2 separate regions of the Homo sapiens genome follow, and region 2 is linked to region 1. Evidence: promoter capture Hi-C in 16 types of primary human blood cells and fetal thymus (Javierre and others, 2016). All regions are on one chromosome and are shown on one strand. The core of a region is centred on a gene start or on the middle of the fragment in contact, and the rest is flanking DNA. Distances in the headings are between cores, read along the strand shown. Region 1 holds the start of PRDM12 (PR/SET domain 12). Region 2 overlaps ASS1 (argininosuccinate synthase 1).

Region 1 (7,135 bases), core at 373-2,872:
GGTGAAGGCCAACCGGAGACTCTTTCGCCTAGTCGGCTTCCGGGAGCCCACTGTGTGTCCAGGCTCTGGGCACTGGCAGAGGAGCCGGGCCGTGATCAGCGCTGGGGACAGACCTCGGGCTGGCAGGTGTTGGAGGTGCCAAAGAAGCACCGGCAGCAGCTGGCCAGGCTCTGCGCTCGCTGTGTGACCCCGGGCGCGCCCGAGTCCCTCTCTGCTCCCAGGCCCTGGGGTGCCAGGGAGGGCGGCGCCCGGGCTCAGACAAACCCCGATGTCATCTCTCTGGGCGGGGAGGAGCCGCGGCGGCCCCCAGCTCCCCGAGGGTTCCCCTGTCGGGCATCTGCGGCAGGGCTGGAAGCGGCGAGGCGCACAAGGGCGGCCTCCATGTCTTACAAGGTTCCCCTCTAAGCTACCTGGGAAAATACCCGGCGAGCGGGCCGGCTGAAAGGGGGGGGTTAAACGGTGTCCATTGCGGCGCGGCGGGCAATTTGTCACGCTGTTAAAGTGATCGCATTCATTCGGCTCCATTCGAAAGAAATTGCTAATTCTAAATTCATTAGCCCTGGAAGAATGCTGTAGCAGTAAATTGTAGCTCAATGCGGAGGGGACTTGTTTAAAAGGGGCCGAGGAATTCCCCTTACAAAAAAGGGGGATTAGATGGTTGACATAGCGTGAATGGAAGTGGAATTAGTCTTCACGGTAAATTAAGAGAGGAACAGAAATCGTAAAGGGGGAAAAGAGGGCGACGCGCAGAGATGCCAGAGCCAGGGAAAGATATTGTTTGCGGGTTGATGAATGAGGAATAAGAACTTGAGACATCTTAAAGAAAAGAAACTTTTCTCGCTCTCTCTTTCTCTCCCTCGCTCTCCCCGCGGCTTTTTCTCCCCGCCCGCCCTCCCTCCACCCCCTCCCCAGCCCCGGCTGCCTTTTAAAGTTCTTGGTTTAAGTGGGAACTTTCGTGGGTCAAGCCCAAGTTAACTAAATGAATTTAAAACCCCTTCTTTTTGAGTCAACTGCTATTACACGCCTAGTAAGGCTGTAAATGCCGGGAACCCGCCAGCTCAAGCGCAGGAGGGGAAGGGAGGGGCCGGCGGGGGCGTCGGGGCCGAGCGACGGGGTCGCCGGGGTCGGTCCTTGAGCCGGGTGGGCTGCGGAGCTGCTTGGTGGCTCGCGTCCTGGTTTGGCCCATGGGGAAACTGAGGTGCACCGAGCGCCGGGAGAGCCCAGGTTGGCGCGAGTAGCAGCGAGGCCGGGTATCCCAGCCGCGTCTCGCGCATCGCCAGGACGGGAATGGGGGTCGCCGGGAGGAGGGATTGCGCCGGGCTCCGACGGCTGGACTCACCGCCGGAGAAGGACTGCGCCAGCACCTCGGCGGTGAAGGCTGTCTTGGGGCTGGCGTGGTGGCTCTTGTCCTCGAAGAGCTGCTCCCCGAGCACGTTGCGCCAGCGGCCGTACAGGAAGCTGTGCAGGATGTCGGAGGTGATAACCTCGGCCAGCGCCAGTCCCGGCGCCTTCAGCCCGGTCTTGAGCACCAGGGCCTCAGCCGGGAGCACGGAGCCCATCATGGGCGGCCCGGAGCTCCCCGGCGCCGGGGGACGGCCGGGCCGACGGGGGAGGTGGGCGGGCGAGAGGGGAGCCCAAGGGGCGAGAGGAGAGCGCTGCGATGGAGAAGGAACCAGAGCAGGGGGAGGACGGAGAGGAGGAGGACGCAGGAGGGAGCGGGAGGTGAGGGGGCGACTGGGAGGAAAGCGAACGAGGGGGAGAGGGGAAGAGAGATGGTGAAATCTGTAGAGATGGCAAAGGCGGCGCGGAGGGTGGAGAGACGCGGGTGGAGGCGGAGGCGGGTGCGGGGGGTGCAGGGTGGGTGAGAGGCGGGTGGTTGCAGGGAAGCGGCAGCAAGGGGCTCAGGCGCGCGCTAGCCTCTCGCACACTCGGCCGGGGCCGTCTTCCCCTTGGCAAAATCTCAGCGCCTTTATAGGAGCCGCAGTGACCCTCCTAATTGGTTATTAATGACCCCCTGACGTCGGAGGACAGACTTGTTGTACCCGGCTGGGCTCGAGGAGCCTTCGTCGCGAGAGCGCGAGGGGCGGGGGCGCGCGGACCGCTCCAAACAGTACCCCTCCACTCCTCTCTCCCCTTCCTGGTCCTTCCTCCCCCCTCCTGTTTTTCCTTCTCTCCCCGTGGGAAGCGCAGGGCAGGGAGGGAGGCTCAGCCGGCTCTGAGGAGAGGAGGGGACGGAGAAGGGGAGGGGGTGCGGCGAGGCTCTCTAGGACTCCAGGGACCAGGCTAGACAAGAGGGGACGCCTGGCTTCGGGCCCCGCGCTCCCCTCAGGCCTGATCTATGTTCACCGGCCTGGCCCAGCCCGGCGTTCACCTTTACTTTGCTGCCCCGGCTGGCCGGCCCAGCCCTGCACCGCTCTCCCTCCCCGGCCAGAGCCCGCGTCCTCTTCCCTCTCCGGCCCTGCACTCCCCGGGCCGCCACAGTCGCCCCGAGCTCGCGCGCAGCCCTAGTTGCCACGCGGATCCCCTGCTCAGACTGCGCTGCTGAAGCCGGCGCTTCGCTTCATACGGGCCGCGCCAACTCGGTCGCTGTGCACGGTCGGGTGCGAAACTCCTCCGCGGGCTCACGGGGCTGCCGAGGCGGGGCCGCAGCGGCCGTCGGGGCTGGGGCTGGTCCCGGCCTGAGACAGCTTCATGGAAGGCCAGGCTCCCGGCCCTTGCGGGGCCAGGTCGGGGGTCGAGATGGGCGGACAGGAATCGCCCTGGCAGCCTGTCTCTGGGAAAAGAATTTCCTACGGGATATAGGGGGATTGAAAGGGGTCCCGAGACCCTTCCTAGGTGGGAGCAGGCGTGCCTGAGAGCGAAGTCCCTCAGAAACTGCAGGCAGCTCCGCGAGAGGCCTCAGTGCGGGTTCGGCTTGCGGCCCGGCTTTCCGGCTCCTTGCTGAGCTGCAACCTCGGGAAGCCGGTGGCGTTGCGGCGCCCCTTCCTTCTTGCCTCCTAGTTCTTTCTTTCTCCTCTGCCTCTCTCTTCTTTCCCTTCCTCTCCTCTATTCCTCCTGCCCATCATCCCAGGAGCAGACTTGCTTTGCGGCGGTTTCGAGGCACCTCGGAGCCCAGCGATCCCCTCTCCCGAAGCAGGTAGCTGCTGAGCCCAGCGGAAGGCCCCGCTTCCTGCAGGCTTCGCGGCTCCCCAGTGTCAGCCTCAAGCCTCGGACCCCAGGCCCTGACATGCTGGGTGAGGGAGCTCACCCCACCTGCCGCACTTCTGGCTCCCATCACCAGCCTACAATTTCAGATGCCGCTAACAGAGGTGCCTGGACCCTCTCGGCGTGGGTCAGGCTCACGGATTAGTCTCCGCTGGACTGTGTGGACTCCCTAGACCTTCTCCTCAGCGCGGAGGACTTGGGTGGAAGAACAGCGAGCTGACCTCCCATGAGCGAGACCCTGTCCAAACGCCTGTTGGCATAGACGCCCCTCCACCACCCGGACGCGCCTTGGCTAAGAGGGTCTCACACCTGGCGTCCAGACTCCAGACCCCTGGTCCCCAGTTCCTGCCAGTAGTCTCCGGCATCCCCCGTCCCCGTTGGGACGCAAAGGGAGGAAGGCGGCGGTAGCTGGCCTTCAGACCCTGCGTCCGGGTCCGCCCGAGGCTGGAGCCCAAGGAAGGGCACACCTGGCAGAAGGCAGGACCGTTGGGCAGGGCGCCAGCAGAGGGCAGCGCTGCTGAGGAGGGAGGTGGGTTAGGGTCGCCGAACCCTCCACTCATTTTTCGACGCAGCTTGTGGGTCGCATCGGCTCCCTGGCCAGAGCTCGAGTCTGAGGGGGCGTATGGAGTCCGATGGCTCCTGCAGGGGAGCCTCACCGGGGCCTACTTCTTGGCTTCTGGGAAGACCTAGGTGGAGAGGACAAAGTGCTAGGAGCGAGGGAGACGACGTCGGGGAGCGCTGCCAGGAGCCAAGCGCTGCGGCAGCTCCCAAGCCCCGAAAGCGACCTCAGTTCCTCCAGGACACCAAAGGGGGATAAGGACTGCTGTGTGTCCTGTGGACTGCCCCTTTCCTCTCTGGGCCTCGGTGTCCCTGTCTGTGCAATGGTTTGAGTTGGACTTTGTGAACTGAGGTTTCTTTGCTTGGTCTCTCTTTGGGTAAGATCACTTTACCCCACGACAACCCCGAGGATTTTGCCCTCTCCAGGGCCACGTCCCACTGCGGGAAGCCCTCAGGTCTGTGCATCCTCCGTGCTGGGGTGCAGCGTTTGGGTCCTGAACCCCGGCTTAGAGTTAGAGGCTTGGATTCCGCTGGCGCAGTGACCACGGGCTCGGACTGCGGCCAGGGAGTCCCATTCCTCTCCTCCGGACCCGCAAGCCCGGAGAGCAGTACTGGGAGCCGGGCAGAAGCGGAGCGCAGAACGTCCTCCCAGCTGGTGCGCCCAAATCTCCACCGCGCTCACATTTTGTGCTTCTAGTCTAGCGGCAAAACCCACCTGGACCCCCGCCCGGGGAAAAAGGAGCCCGTAGGTAGCGCCCAGTCTCAAGGTGCATTGAAATAGGGAGCAAGACCCTGTGCTCACATCTCCCCGGGAGGAGATTTCGAGGGGAAACATTCCGGGCTTTCCCAGCGGATGACCCGTGTTATTTTGTCATTTTCCGCGGGGCCCAGGCGCGGAATGTGCTCGCGCAAAAGCCCCCTCCCCTCGGCCGGGCCGGAGCTCTCAGGCTCCGTCGCCCCCCTCGCCCGCTGGCCGCCACTTGGCGATCTCTTTAATATTCATGGGCGTTAATAGAGAGGCCCTCAGTATATCGGTCCATTGTGGGCGGCTCGTAGGACTTGAATAGGCCTCGGCCCCCTTTCTTCGGCGCGGCTTCCCGAGGGGCCGGGCCAGGAGTGAATGGCCCCGCTTCCCGCTCCGCGCCCCCTCCCCCTTTCAGGGAGAACATCTTTATCCTCTTCTCCGCTGCCGCCGCCGCCCGGGCCCCCATTCACGCGGCCCCGGCTCCGGGCGGAACGAATCAATTTGCCGCGGCTCTTCGGAGGTCATCCTCGCCGCCCGGGTGCCCTCTTCCCCTGAGCCCACGGGAGTGGAGAGAGGGCCGCCGCGGCAGGCCGACGGCCCCACGGAGGGACATTGAAGGGGAAGTGGAGGAGAAGAGCAGGGGCGACCCGGAGGGGTGGCTGGGCCGGGGCGGGCAAGACAGTCTCAGGGCCCGGCAGCCGCCCGGGGTTGGCTAATTTCTAGTTGTTGCCCCGCTCAGGGCGGAGCGCCGAGGGGAAGGAGGCCGCGGCCCAAGCCCGGAGGTCCGTTCGTCCTCCCCTTGAGGCACCAGCGCGCGTCCCTTCGGCCCGGCTGAGGCACCTATGAGAACGGGGGCGTGTGGGACAGCCCAGGGCCCCGCACGACGCTTTCGTTCTCGCCGGTGCGCCGGGGCTTAGCTCCGGGAGAGCCAGGTCCCGACAGTGCGCTTCAGGGGGACGCTCGGAAGGGCGGCCGGCTTCGCGGCTCCTGCGCCCTCGCTCTGGGGCCCGGGCCTGGGTGCGGGGGAGGGGGGTGCGAGTCGGTCAGGCGGGGCCAAAGCGCACGGGTCCCCGCCCTGCCCGCCCCGCCGGCCCTCAGAGGCGCAGAAAGAAGCCCATTGTCCGCCGAGAAATACATTTTTGGGGGCCGAGTGAAAGCCCGTCTTTCTTTTGAACTTTAGAAGAAAGTCTCCTGTTCTCGCCCCTCGGAGGGAGAGATTTGTCCCCCCTCCCGGGAGCTCCGCGCGCCTCCTCCTCCCGAAACATCTGCCGGGGGAAAATCCACCCTGGAGGGCAGATCGCGCTCGCTTTAAGCCTGGCGAACTCATTAAAAAGATATTAGCGGCGGGGGCAGGTCCCGCGCAGGTATCGATCGGCCGGAATGAGCCCGAGGAAGAAAAGGCGAAGAATGCGCCCGCGCCGCGCTCAGACGCCCACCCGCCCCGCCCAGCCCCTGCGCCCCAGCCCCGCATAGGGAGAGGGGCCCCCGCGCCGCCTCGCACTGTCTGTGAGTCCCGCGGCCCGCGGTCCAGCCGCCCCCACCCGGGCTCCTCGGCACAGCCCCTCGGCAACCCTCCCCTGCCGGTGCTGCGCTCCGTCCTGGCTTCCCCTGCGCGCAGGTTCCCGGCCGCTCCCCTCCTCCGCCCGCTGCCGTCGCGCGCCCAGCATCCGCGTCTCTCTTCTCCCCCTCTCCTTCTCTTCCTCCTTCCCCAGCGCTCCCCTCTTTCGCTGGCGCTCCGACTCCCTCTCCAGCTTCGCACACCCTCTCCGCTTCCTCCTCGCACGTCTCTCTCTGGCTTTCTGAGCCTCAATCTTTCGCAGTGGCCCAGGAAATTCCTTCCTCGCGTGGGGCCCGCGCCGCTCCCCTCCCCCCACCCCCGTTCCCCGTAAGACGGTTCAGGGTTCCAGGGCGCCCCCGCCGGCGCGTACAAAGGCGCGGCTGGCTGCCAAGGCGGGTGGGGGCGAGGCCGAAAAAAACGGTTTCAACAGACGTGACTCGGGGCCAGGCCTGCGCGGGGCTGCCGGCGGAGTGGCGGCCTCGGCTCAGTGAATGGGGACAGCGGCCCCCTCTCCCACCCCACCCCTGTCCCCTCCCAATGTAATTAGCTTTCAAGGCTCGGGAGAGACAAAGGCGCGCCCCGGGGCGCCCACGTGGAGTGCGTAGGCGCGAAGTCGGCGCCCCGACCGGCAGGTGACTGGCACGCGAGTCTCCCCAGGCGCCCAGGGGCGGAGGAGGGGAAGCCCCTCCCCTGCGCCTCTCGAACCCCCTTCCATCGCCCACACCCCGGTCCCCAGGCCAGCGATGCCAGCGCCACAGCCCAGGCTGATCAAGGCGGCGGGAACGACGGGAGAGACGCCGGGGACACCAGGAGACCGGGCGGTGGGAGAGACAGAGGCGCAGGCTTCTGGAAGCAGAGGGGGCGAGACAGGGGTCGGGGGAGACTGAGGCAAGGCGATGCCGAGGTGGAGGGAGCAGATGAAAGGCCGAGTCGGAGACGCAGGGGTACAAAGACTCGGAGATGAAGGAAGCAGAGGGGGAGAGGCACGGCTTCCGAAAGAGCGGGAGGCCTGGAGAGGCTTTCAAGAGCTGGATCACCAAGAGGGAGCAACAGGGTGCTACAGAGAGACT
Region 2 (6,122 bases), core at 1-2,500, 210 kb after region 1:
TGCCTCACCTTTCCTGTGGCGCCGTGGGACACATACTTGGCCCCCTCCCGCTGGGCGATTTCCACTTGTTTGCGGGCGATGCAGGGCCTGGCAAGAGAGGTGCCCAGGAGGTAGCGGTCCTCATACAGTGCGCTGGACTGGATGGCCGGCCAGATGAACTCCTCCACAAACTCCCTGCTGACATCCTCAATGAACACCTACGGGAAGAGGAGCCCAGAAGGAAGAAGTAGGCAAGGACAGGGGCCATCTGGCATACAGAGCCCCAGGGGCCTCAGCTAGCTGAGACCTATACGGGGCCACCCCCGCTGTACCTGGTGCTTCTTCTTCTGCATCTGTAGTAGACATCATTCATCAATCCCAGCACACTGCACTGTTACTCTCCCTCCTGCACTCATGGCAGACATTGCTAATCAATAGCTCTCTTTTTTTTTTTTTTTTTGAGTCGAAGTCTTGCTCTGTTGCCCAGGTTGGAGTGCAGTGGCTCAGTCTCAACTCACTGCAACCTCCGTCTCCCAGGTTCAAGCAACTCCCCTGCCTCAGCCTCTTGAGTAGCTGGGATTACAGGCGCATGCCACCATGGCTTGCTAATTTTTGTATTTTTGGTAGAGACGGGGTTTCACCATGTTGGCCAGGTTGGTCTTGAACCCCTGACCTCAGGTGATCCAGCTGCCTCGGCCTCCCAAAGTGCTGGGATTACAGGCACAAGCCACCGCGGCCAGCCTGCTAATCAATCCTGATGCACCGTTCTGTGAAACTGGATGTGGCTTCTAAATCAGCCCCAACAAGATGAAACTTAGTTGTCACCTAAGATCTCACAGCAGTAGTTCCCAACCAGAGACGGTTTTGTCCCTGTTGGGGGTGGGAGTAGGGGAGGCATTTGGAAGTATCTGGAGATATTTTTGGTTGCCACAACTACCAGGTGGGGGGTGGAATTCTGGCATCTAGTGGGTAAAGGCTATGGGGATACTGCTAAAATCCTCCCGTGCACAGGACGGCCAGCCACACGGGAACAAGGCCAAGACTGAGAAACCCCGATCCAGAGGAATGGTTCTTGAAATGTAGACCCCCAGGGGTTCCCAATGACTTTTCAGGGAGACACTGAGTGAAAACTTTTTTTTTGTTTTTTTGAGACAGGGTCTTTCTCTGTCATCCAGACTGGAGTGCAGTGGTGTGATCCTAGCTCACTGCAGCCTCAACCTCCTGGGTTCAAGCAATCCTCCCACCTCAGCCTCTTGAGTAGCTGGGACTACGGGCATGTGCTACCACGCCCGGCTAAGTTTTTTATTTTTTGTAGAGATGGGATCTCACTGTGTTGCCCAGTTTTCTTCATAAACTTCAATAAAACAAGGCATCACATAGCGAGGAAGCCCTGGGAGGCTAAAAAAGAAAAACAAACAAACAAACGAAAAAACAAGTGAATGCAGAAAACCGCTACAAGAGTCCATCTGTTTTCTGTCAAGCCAGACATTACAGAGATTTGCAAAAATGGAAGCCAATAAGATTCTTAACTAAAATTTTTTGTTTGAGAAAATAGTTATTTTTCATAAGTGTAATGTTACTTATGTTAACATGAACTGTTCATTTAAAACATTTCAGCTTTTATTTCTAATGTGATAAATATCAACAGATGTAATCCACAAAAGCTCTCTAAGGCCTTCAGTAATTTTTATTTTTTTGAGATGGACTCTCTGTCATCCAGACTGGAGTGCAGAGGTGCAATCTTGGCTCACTGTAACCTCTGCCTTCCGGGTTCAAGTGATTCTCCTGCCTCAGCCTCCCGAGTGGCTGGGACTACAGGCATGTGGGGTTTCTCTACTAAAGAAACTAGGCTGGTTGGCCAGGCTGGTCTCAAACTCCTGACCTCAAGAGATCTGCCCACTTCAGCCTCCCAAAGTGCTAGGATTACAAGCGTGAGCCACCGCACCCAGCCAAGGCCTTCAATAATTTTTAAGAGTCGAGAAATTCTTGGTACTGCTTTTGCAACTTCCTGTGTCTATAATTATTTTGAAAAAAATCCTTTTAAAAAATGAAATAAAAAGGCATAGAAAAGAAAGCAATTGGGACTAAGGATATATAAAAAACATTAGGATAAATGTGTTTTTGTGTTTGTTTGGTTGGTTGGTTGGTTTTTTTTACAGAGTTTTGCTGTTGTTGCCCAGGATGGAGTGCAATGGTGTGATTTCAGCTTACTGCAACCTCCGCCTCCTGGGTTCAAGCGACTCTCCTGCCTCAGCCTCCCGAGCATCTGGGATTACAGGCACCCACCATCGCGCCCAGCTAATTTTTGTATTTTTAGTAGAGACAGGGTTTCACCATGTTGGCCAGGCTGGTCTTGAACTCCTGACCTCAGGTGATCTGCCTGCCTCAGCCTGCCAAAGTGCTGGGATTACAGGCGTGAGCCACTGTGCCTGGCCCATCCTAATGTTATATGCAAGAAAATAAACATTAAAAACGCCACGTAAATTAGAGTGTAGAGGATTCCCAAGACCACAAGTTTTGAGAACTGCTCATCTAGAATAAAGGACAAAAGCTGAAGCCGTGCACAAAGCCTGCTCCTGCGCTGCTGAAAGCGCACTCGAATCTTCAACACTCAGGGCTCTTTCTCCCCTTCCTGGACTACTGCTCAGACAACCCCTCTGCTCTCCAGCACTCGGGAGGCACAGAACCAAGGAGGGACATTCTAGTTCCAGGCCTGTGGCCAGTAGGTGACTTGGGACTGGGGCATCCACTCCCTCCCGTGTTCATTTTAACATGCTAATTACCCTGGCAACCCTGCAGAAGCACCCCACAGAGGGGATCAGCTCTGACCCTGCAGGTGGGCTGGTGGCCTTGCACATCATCCCTGCTATGTCCCCTGCTCACTCTCCCAAATGAAGGGGCACAAGTGGCAAGGGCTTCTCCATGGGGAGTGAGCACATGTGAGCAGGGGTCCTGATGACACTGTTCATCATAAATGCCCTGTATGGGACAGGGGTCTGCCTGCCACATGCCTAGATTCACAATCAAGGCACCAGACTCAATTGGAGTTCTCTGATTCTGTTGAATGAATGGAAGAATGGGTAGACAGAGAGATAAAAGAGGGAAGGACAGGTAGGGGGATGATGGACAGAAGGATGGATGATGGATGACAGATGGATGGATGGATGAATGGATGGATAGAAAAACGGTGAATGGATGAAGGATGGATGGATGGATGGGGGATGGATAGATGAATGGCTGGCTGTCTGGATGAATGGATGGATAGACAGTGGAGGGATTAATGACAGATGGATATGTGGATGGATGGATGGATAATGAAGGGATGGATGGGTGAATGGATAATGGGATGGATGGATAGATGATGGATGGATGAATGGATGGATGAATAGACGGATGGATGATGGATGGATGCATGGGTAGATGATGGATGGATGAATGGATGATGCATGGAAGGATGAAGAATGATGGATGGATGGATGGATGATGGATGAATAAATGGATGATGGATGGATAGACGGATGATGGCTGGATGAATGGATGATGGGTGAATGGATGGATGGATGGATGATGGATGAATGGATGGATGATGGATGGATGGATGATGGGTGAATGGATGGATGGATGATGGATGAATGGACGGAGGATGGATGGATAGATGGATAGATGGATGATGGATGGATGGATGAATGGATGGATGGATAATGGATGGGTGGATGAGTGGATGGGTGATGGATGGATGGGTGGATGGATGATGGATGAATGGATGAATGGATGGATGGATGGATGATGGGTGAATGGATGGGTGGGTGATGGATGGATGGATGGATGGATGATGGGTGAATGGATGGGTGGGTGATGGATGGATGGATGGCTGAATGGATGGATGGATGGATCGATGGATAGCTAATGGAGGGATGAATGATGGATGGATATGTGGACGAGTAGATAAACAGAGATAAAAGAGGGTGAGTGGGTGCATAGATGGACAGAGAGATAAAAGAGAAGGGAAGGTATGTGGGTGGGGAAGAGACACTCCACCTGGATGGGAAGGTGGGTGGGTGGAAGAGGGCGTGGGGGAGGCAGAAAAACAAGAGGGTTCACACACCTGAGAGCAGGATGATCTCATACTCTTAGAAGCAAGAAGACACACTGGAAGGGATGGGATCCCTGGGGCAGGAGCATCCACCACTGCCCTCCACATCACCGCCCCACTCCCAGCCCAAATCCCTGCCTCCCGCCTGGTACCTTTTTGGCCCCAAGCTTCAGTGCCTTCTTCCTGGCTTCCTCGAAGTCTTCCTTCTGGCCAATGTTGGCCTGAGAAGCAGAAGCGGAGAGGCTCCGTCAGCCCCTGGGGGGAGCCCTGAGTTCACACCATCCGCATGCAGCAGCCTCCCACCCCCTGCTACAGAGACAGCTTCCATTCCATGGCCAAGTCACAGTAAGAAGGAAAAAGGACAAAGCCCAAGGCCTGGAGAGGTGAGATTCTTCCAGGAGGTGAGATTGGGAGCTGGATTGTAGCGTGGTGATGGCTGGTGGCTTCCATGGGTTGGAGCATTGGCTGAGCCTGGCCCTGGCCACACAGGCTGCTGGGAGACAACCATCTGCTGTCATTGCTGGAAGGTCTAGGGTTCTCCTGAAACTCATCTGTCTTTTCCAGAAAACTCTTTCTCAGCCAGTGCAAAGATTAGCTTGTCAGGGCCTTCCTAGCCTCCAGCTCTCCTCCCTAGTCAAAGGCCATGCCTTGGCCATCCTGAGGCAGCTGAGAGGCGGGAGGCAGAGAAGCCCGTGCTCAGGAACTTCCAGCTCCGTCCCTGTGGCCAGTGCCCTGACCTCGGGGTCTGACAGCCCCTGTCTAGACACTGCCATGTTTCCTGCTGCCTGGACTCTGGCCTGCTGCCCAGATCCTGGCCTCAGCCCTCACTCCCTTCATTCGGCTCACCAGACCCTGGAATCTTGCCAAAGCCCAGCTGCAGGTGCTTATCTGAATCACATTCAGCTTTTAAATCCCCCAGGTGGTAGCCCAGGGGTCTATACGCCCAGCTCCAGCTCTGATTGCCCCGCTGTGCTACCTACAGTGAGATGGATACACCCTGGGCTCTTTGCAGCCCCTCAAAGCTGTGCTCTCACCCACCAGGTGACTGTGAGCAAAGTATTTCTTCCCCTGGGCCTCACTTTCCCCAACCTGAATGACAAGGGCATTGGGCGCAGTTAGACATGCCAATATGCCGGCAAACAAGCCACTTTTGGCAAGAGCTAAGTTTTGTCTGTCCAGAGACCCAGGCTCACTTCCTCTGGAAACAGAACCTTCTTTCCTGGGTGGACCCCATTCCACAGGGATGGAGAGGAAGAAATCCCGCCCACTGAAGGAGTAGGCTCATGGCCCAAGCCTCGCACCCCATGATGCAGCCATAGGGACTAATGCGTGGTGGGTCCCCATGGGCCCTACTGGGGGTAAGCCCTCCTTTTTGGGAAAGGTGGGCTATGAGGGTGACCATGAGCCTTGCCTGCCCTGTGGAGAGGCCAAGAATGAAGCCAAGTAGAGTTGGAGATAGATCTTAGAAGCACCTGGATCCAGCCCTGCCTGAAGCCATCCTACCCCTGGAGTTCTCAGTTGTGTGAGCCAAGAATTGTCTTTTCCCTTTCCTTTTTGCGTAAGTTGGTTTGAGTTCAGTTTCTAAAATTTGCACCTAAGAGTCCTGAACAGCACAGCCACACAGAGAAGGACTCAGAGCTGTGGCCAGGTTCAGTCGAAGAGGAGCTAGTTTGAGAGGGATGACTCCTATGGGCCCTGGATGAGGAAGTGGCTTCACACATAACCCATCACCTGTGACCTATTTCCCATCCCAGAACCAGGTGATCCCCCAGGGTCCTTCCAGCTCAGGATTCCACAATCTTTGCTGAATTACTGCAGGCTGACAGCATACTCTGGAGATGGGAAGACTGTGTGCCTTCCCAGGGCTGGCAGCAGGTCCCAGCCCATGCCTCTCTGCAAGCAGGCTAAGCCAGCAGCACTGCCAAGTTCACTTCTGTGCCCTCCCCGCGCCTCCATCACCTGGCTCTGGAAGGCATCTCAAGGATGGCCAATTTGCAGATGGAGAAAGTGAGGCAGTACAACGAGAAGCTATTTTCCTAGTTCCAGTTCA

What was found. The method cuts DNA at HindIII sites, captures the fragments that hold promoters and counts their contacts. A CHiCAGO score of 5 or more calls a contact.
Region 2: a fragment that was not itself captured here is called in contact with the fragment with the promoter of PRDM12 in region 1 in 6 of 17 cell types (megakaryocytes, erythroblasts, M1 macrophages and 3 more); the score reaches 7.6 in megakaryocytes.

Annotation. Positions count from the first base shown.
Region 1 is chr9:130,659,081-130,666,215 of GRCh38, reverse strand. It overlaps PRDM12 (PR/SET domain 12), which reads right to left and starts at 1,622. Exons shown (of 5, transcript NM_021619.3): 1 at 1,340-1,622. The coding sequence starts at 1,562. RefSeq lists enhancers at 375-1,048, 2,339-3,180. The HindIII fragment of the contact is 14,404 bases long and covers 1-7,135 here.
Region 2 is chr9:130,452,476-130,458,597 of GRCh38, reverse strand. It overlaps ASS1 (argininosuccinate synthase 1), which reads right to left. Exons shown (of 15, transcript NM_054012.4): 3 at 4,225-4,293; 4 at 9-197. Among named protein-coding and RNA genes, the nearest start is that of ASS1, 11 kb to the right of the region's middle. RefSeq lists an enhancer at 4,615-5,115. The HindIII fragment of the contact is 5,982 bases long and covers 1-4,241 here.